2 separate regions of the Homo sapiens genome follow, and region 2 is linked to region 1. Evidence: promoter capture Hi-C in human tissues and cell types (Jung and others, 2019). All regions are on one chromosome and are shown on one strand. Each heading gives the region's core, a stretch centred on a gene start or on the middle of the fragment in contact. The rest is flanking DNA. Distances are from core to core; before and after follow the strand shown.

Evidence for each region. Contacts are between HindIII fragments. The study calls those that stand out against the background at their distance.
Region 2: a fragment that was not itself captured here is called in contact with the fragment with the promoter of PTPRCAP in region 1 in 1 of the 25 tissues and cell types used here (hippocampus).

The regions. Positions count from the first base shown.
Region 1 is chr11:67,436,195-67,438,931 of GRCh38, forward strand. PTPRCAP (protein tyrosine phosphatase receptor type C associated protein) reads right to left here and starts at 1,488. Exons shown (of 2, transcript NM_005608.3): 1 at 1,423-1,488; 2 at 1-156. The coding sequence starts at 1,425. CORO1B (coronin 1B) reads right to left here. Exons shown (of 11, transcript NM_020441.3): 10 at 2,477-2,737; 11 at 1-2,307. The coding sequence ends at 2,182. RefSeq lists enhancers at 1-629, 532-591, 907-1,439, 1,440-1,972, 1,973-2,505 and 1 more and silencers at 812-1,181, 2,432-2,571. The HindIII fragment of the contact is 14,275 bases long and covers 1-2,737 here.
Region 2 is chr11:67,237,487-67,240,210 of GRCh38, forward strand. The region is part of intron 12 of KDM2A (lysine demethylase 2A); the gene reads left to right. Among named protein-coding and RNA genes, the nearest start is that of GRK2, 28 kb to the right of the region's middle. RefSeq lists an enhancer at 2,556-2,615. The HindIII fragment of the contact is 7,033 bases long and covers 1-2,724 here.

The sequences.
Region 1 (2,737 bases), core at 238-2,737:
GGCCAGTGCTAGGCCAGTGGCCAGCAGTAGGAGCAGCAGCAGCAGCAGGACAACGGTGACAGAGCTGGAGCCCACGCTGTCCTCCGCGCTGCCACCCGAGCCCAAGGCCCCTGGCAGGGCCAGCAGCATCCCGAGCCCTAAGGTGCAGGGCAGAGCCTGTGGGAGACAGGCAGGGGCTCAGAGGGCTCAGCACCTGGGGTGGGGCCTGGTGTGGGGCAGGCTGGGTGACCAAGACCACTTTCGTTTTTTTCTCTTTGGGATCCTCTTGGGACAGCCAAGCAGAAAAGGCCAAGGCCTTATTTGGTCAACCAGGCTCTGGCCCTGTGAGATCAGCCCCCATCCCTCCAGCCTCCTCCCTACCACTCACCTCCCCCAACAGCTGCATTAAGCCACCTGCCTGGGGCCTTCGCACTGGCTGTTCCCTCTGCCCGGAAAGCTCCACCTCCTCCCATCCTCCCCTCCCCCGGGCTGCATGGCCTGCTCACCGTGCTCAAACTTCACCCCAGTGAGGCTGAACCTGACCTTAACCTCTACCCTGATGTCTATCACTGCAGCCCACCCCAGCACCCCCCAGCACTCAGTGCCTTTTTCCTTCCATGTCACCTAACGCAGGAGATAACTGTACTCATTTTTTATGTCTATTGTCTTATCTACCCCCCACAATAAGCTGCTAGGAAACGGGGGCTTTTTGGGTCAAGCATGTTAGTAGGTGCTCAATAAGTATGGATTAAATGTGTCTAGGCTGCCTGGGTGGGTGGGAGAGGAGATGGGAGGGAGGGAAGGAGGTTGCTAGCTGGTGTCAGGGCTGGCTCTCCCTGAGGCCTGGGATGGGGGATGGAGGGGCCTGGATGCACCCAGAGGCAACTGCTCATCTTCTGCTTGGCCAGGTCCCCAAACGGGGGTCCGTGAGGCCCCTCTTCCTCCCTCCCCACCACGGGGCTGCCCCAGCGGCAGGGTTTCCGTTCCACTCCCAGTCCCTGAGGGCCACAGGCGTGCAGGGCCGGGGGCTGGGGGGGGCTGGGGGAGGCGGGCGCAGCTGCCAGAGGAAGTCTGCGGTCGGAACAGGCTAGGTGGGGGGTGTCGGGGGAGGGGTGCTGAGGTGCAGCCAGCCTCCCCCACCACCCCAGGCTGTCCGCCCAGGCTCCAGGAATGCAAGTTCCCGCTCACAGGAAGACCAGGTAAGGGCCTTCCCAGGGCTCCTGACAGGGGCCTGGTCCGGTATGGGGTGCTGGGGGCCAGGCCTGGAGTCCCAGGGAGCCCAGCTCAGGTGAGAGAAAGGTTCAGCCTCTGCCATACTCCTCTTAGGTCTCACCTCTTCCCTGGGGCCAATGTGGGGCCCTCCTTAGCTCCACAGGCCCAGACATTCTAGCCCCGACCGCCTGTGGCCCCCATCCCAAGAACCCGGGGGGCTCCGAGGCTTACCATTGGTCCGCAGGCCCCTCCGTGCCGGGCACCCACCTCCAGCTCTGGCTGTGTCGAGCGAGAAGTGAGCTCAGTGCTCGTCTGCAGTGAAGGGTGGCCCAGGCTTCCGCTTCCTGCCCACATACCCCACCTGCCCCTCCCTGCTGCAGGACCCCTGGTCCACACCAGACCCTCCCCAGTCTCTCTGGAGGAGGCTGGGCTGCCGGGCCTGTCCTCCAAGGAAGAAGCAGCACCAACTTGAAGCTGGATGCAGCCTTGCATGTGTTCTCAGGTCTTCTGCCTCAGTTTCCCTGCCTGACAATCCAGGGGAGCAATGCCTGTGGGGCTGCTCACTGCCCCCAGACCTTCTGCACATGTGTGACTCCTGTGACATCCTCTGTCTCCAGGTTTCCAGACTTCTCAGCCCCACCCTTGCAGCAGCAGGTCAGCCTGGCTTTTAGAAAGAGAATTTTATTTGGAATGAAAATATAGAGCCCACCCTCCCGCCTCCTCTGGGGAGGGAGCAGAGGGCTGGGCAGTGGTCGGGGAGATGGTCCCTCAGAGGTCGAGGAGCTCGCCTGGGCGTAGACATCCTCCACAGGAACAGTGAGGAAAGCTGGGCGCTGGCTTCGGCCTGGGCCTGGGACGGGTGGGGGTGGGAACTGACCCCTGCGCTGCCTCAGAGGCTCTGGGCAGCCAGCTAGCCCGGTGCGACCCGCTGGCAGAAGCTGAGTGGGAAGGGGGCGGCGGAGGAGATGAAGGTGGCGTGTGGCTGTGGCCCTACGCATCCCCGTTCTCCATGCGGCCCAGCTGCTCCTCCAGGCGGCAGATGCGGTCGCCCTGCTCCTTGACCAGCGCCCTCAGGGCCCGCAGCTCCTGCATCACCTCCTCCAGCTTCCCAGCCTCCTGTGGGGACATGAAGCAGGGGTAGGGGGCGGTGGTCAGGGGCTGCTAAGCCATAGCCCTCCCAAACCCACCACTACCCCAGAGAGGGACAGCGAATGGCTGAAGCCCACACAGCAGGCCAGGGCCACACCTGGGGCTCCCAGCACCACCCCTGCCTGCGCGTGCATACCCCGGCTCTGGCCAGGCTGCCGCTGGGGGTGGCATCAGCAGCAGTGGTGGTGGAGGCGGGGGCCCCTAGGTGGGAGGAGCCCGGGGCCATGGCGGGCCGGCTGTCAGACAACACGTTGCGCCGGCTGATCTTCAGGTCCCGCTGCTTGCTGGGCACGTAGGCCTCCCGCAGTGAGATGAGGATCGGGTCGGCATCCCGCCCGCTCACCCACTCCTCAGCCTCCAGGGCTGCCTCGGGCCCGGCTGTGTCGGGGTACAGATC
Region 2 (2,724 bases), core at 127-2,626, 200 kb before region 1:
TGCTGTGTTGACCAGGCTGGTCTTGAATCTTGAACTCCTTGCCTTGAGCAATCCTCCTGCCTCGACCTCCCAAGTGCTAGGATTACAGGCATGAGCCACCTTACCCAACCAACTCAGCTTTTTGTTTGTTTGTTTGTCCTGGGTCCAGGCTTACAGATTTTTTTTTGTAAAGCAACCTAGGCCAGATGTGTTAGCTCATGCCTATAATTCCAGCACTTTGGGAGGCTGAAGCAGGAGGATCACTTAAGGCCAGGAGTTCAAGACCAGCCTGGGCAACATAGTGAGACTCCATCTTCAAAAAAATTAAGAAATTAGCTGAGCATGGTATTGTGCACCTGTAGTCCCAGCTACTCAGGAGGCTGAGGTCTAGGCTGTAGTAAGCTGTCATCTACCACTGCACTTTAGCCTGGGCAACAAAGCGAGACCCTGTCTGAAAAAAAAAAAAATTTATATCCTGTTATAGGATATATTTATTTATACAAATAAAACTTTATTTGCAATATTTACTAACAAGATATTTGTAATAATTCATACATTCTTACTGAATAGAAAGTTTTAAGTAATGTAACTCAGTTATGAGGCATATATGCTTAAAGTTACATATAATTATTTTAAATATTTTCCTTATATTCTTGTATTATGTAATGTCATGGTCTTAGTAATTCTTATCTTTTTTGCCTATCTTTTATTCTCAATTAGCAGGAGGGGGTAAAGTTAGGCCTTGTTTAATTTGTGATTTGGAAACTTACTGGGAGTGAGTTTCCTAGTGCCCGATGTGATTTTTTTCCTTTCCTGGTGGCCTCTAGAATTTGCACTTGCTGCAACTTGAACTTACGTTTGTTTTAAAGTAATATGTTTTCTCTTAAGTATTCATACTTTACTATCTCTATAATATAGATAGCACTGAAGATCAAAATAAGCATTTTCCAAGAAGACCTCTCAATAGCTAGATCACTGTTAAGGAAAGCCTTTCAAACAAAATAAGCCGATTGCAGTGGGTCTTGAGTCTTAAGATACAGTGTCCGGGAGAAGTTTAGGGTTAGGATGACCATATAAGCATTTCCAGGAGAAGCTCAGCCGAGAGCACAAAAGTCTGTCCTTCCCCTGGTAAACTACTATAAAAATAACATATGTAGCCCCTGGCAGCAAAGCTCCAGACTTTAGAAAGCCTAGTTAGCCACTAAATCTGTACCAGAAACTCACTCAAACAACTGTCCTGGAAATAAATAAGAATGCTTAAGAGCTAGATGCTTAAATCAGAGCATCTGCAAAAAAGGCAAGTTATACATTTGTAAGGGTCTAAAAGTCACATAAAAATCACATTGGCTCTAAAAAAGACCCAAACTGTTTCTGCTAAGTATTTGATTCCTACTCAGGTTCTCCCATGCTGATGTTTGGTACACTGTGGATCACTAGAAACTCAACCAGAGTGTGCACCCTCCTTTCCTCCTGTAGACTGAAAGGAGTGTGTGTTCAGTCTGAGCTTCATCCCAGCTGGGGATCCGGGGATCAGGGTTTGTTGTGCAGAGGTGTGAGCAATACTTGTCAGTCCGAGTGGCTGTGAGAAGGCAGTGAGGTGTCTTGACAGGATGCAGGACTGGCTGCTTCATCTGGGGAATATCAAGAATGAGACAGGCAAACAGACTTGAATAGAAATGGAAATCCAAGAGTACAATACTGGTATTCTGAGGGTAGGATAATCTTACAGGCAGAGGAGACTGCTGGAATTGGGAGAATGTGTGTTCCCTGGCTTCCTGCACCTTGTTTAGAGGCAGGAGGGCAAAGTGTGTTGTGCCTCAGTTGTTTGACTTGGTCACGGTGGAACTGCTGCAGGATTGCTGCGCAGACATTTCTAGTACTGTACTGTGGGGGTGGAGTCCTTGTCAGAATCAGAAGCAGGCATCTGTTTTAGATGTAGTTGATGTTAGCCGTATTTTATTGAATATCTCAATATTGGCTGACATGGGCCATTTCTGAAGGTTTTTTGGAACACATAGGCAGATTCTGGATTGTGGGCTGGGAGCAAGTCAGCGAGGGCAGGTGAAGCAGGCAGTGTGCCGGAGAGAGAAGATAACTCAAGAGGAACTCAGCTCCTGTGCCTAGTTCATCCAGAGAGGCGGAACTTTGGGCGACCCCCTCTACTTGCTGAGAGGGGAGAGAGAAGTGTGTGTGCAGTCAGCCAGAGAGCTCTGGCAGTAACAGTGGTAACAGTGAGAGGTGACCCTGAGGGGAAGGGTGTGGACTGAAACAAGGACAAATGTGGGCCAAGGTGCCTAGTGTAGCCCGCAGAATGAGTTAAAGCCTTCCCTTTGGCTGGCGCCTTCAGAAGTCTGCCACCGGGAGCCCTCAGGGGGCTGGCCCTAGGTTCTCCTATTGCAGTGGTGGTGGGAGGGAGACAGGGCGGGGGCTGTGGCTGAGCTCTCCTCCCTGGCAGGGCCTCTTCCAATCGCGAGGAAGAAAGCAGTTGCTGAACACACCCCCTCCCGGCTCTGCAGCAGAACGGCTGGGCCCTCTGCCTGGCTCGCTCACTCTCGCTCGGCTCCCCCTCCTGCCATCTTCCGTTGCAAAGCATTTCTGGGAGCTGCATGTGGGTGACGCAGCAGCATTGTTCGCAGGCACAGGAAGCCGCGGCTGAGCTGAAGGGCTCGAGAAGGAGCCCAGAGCGCTGCACGCTGCTCCCTCTGGGTAGTCTGAAGGGTCAGAGCTGGACTGCCCTGCCCTATG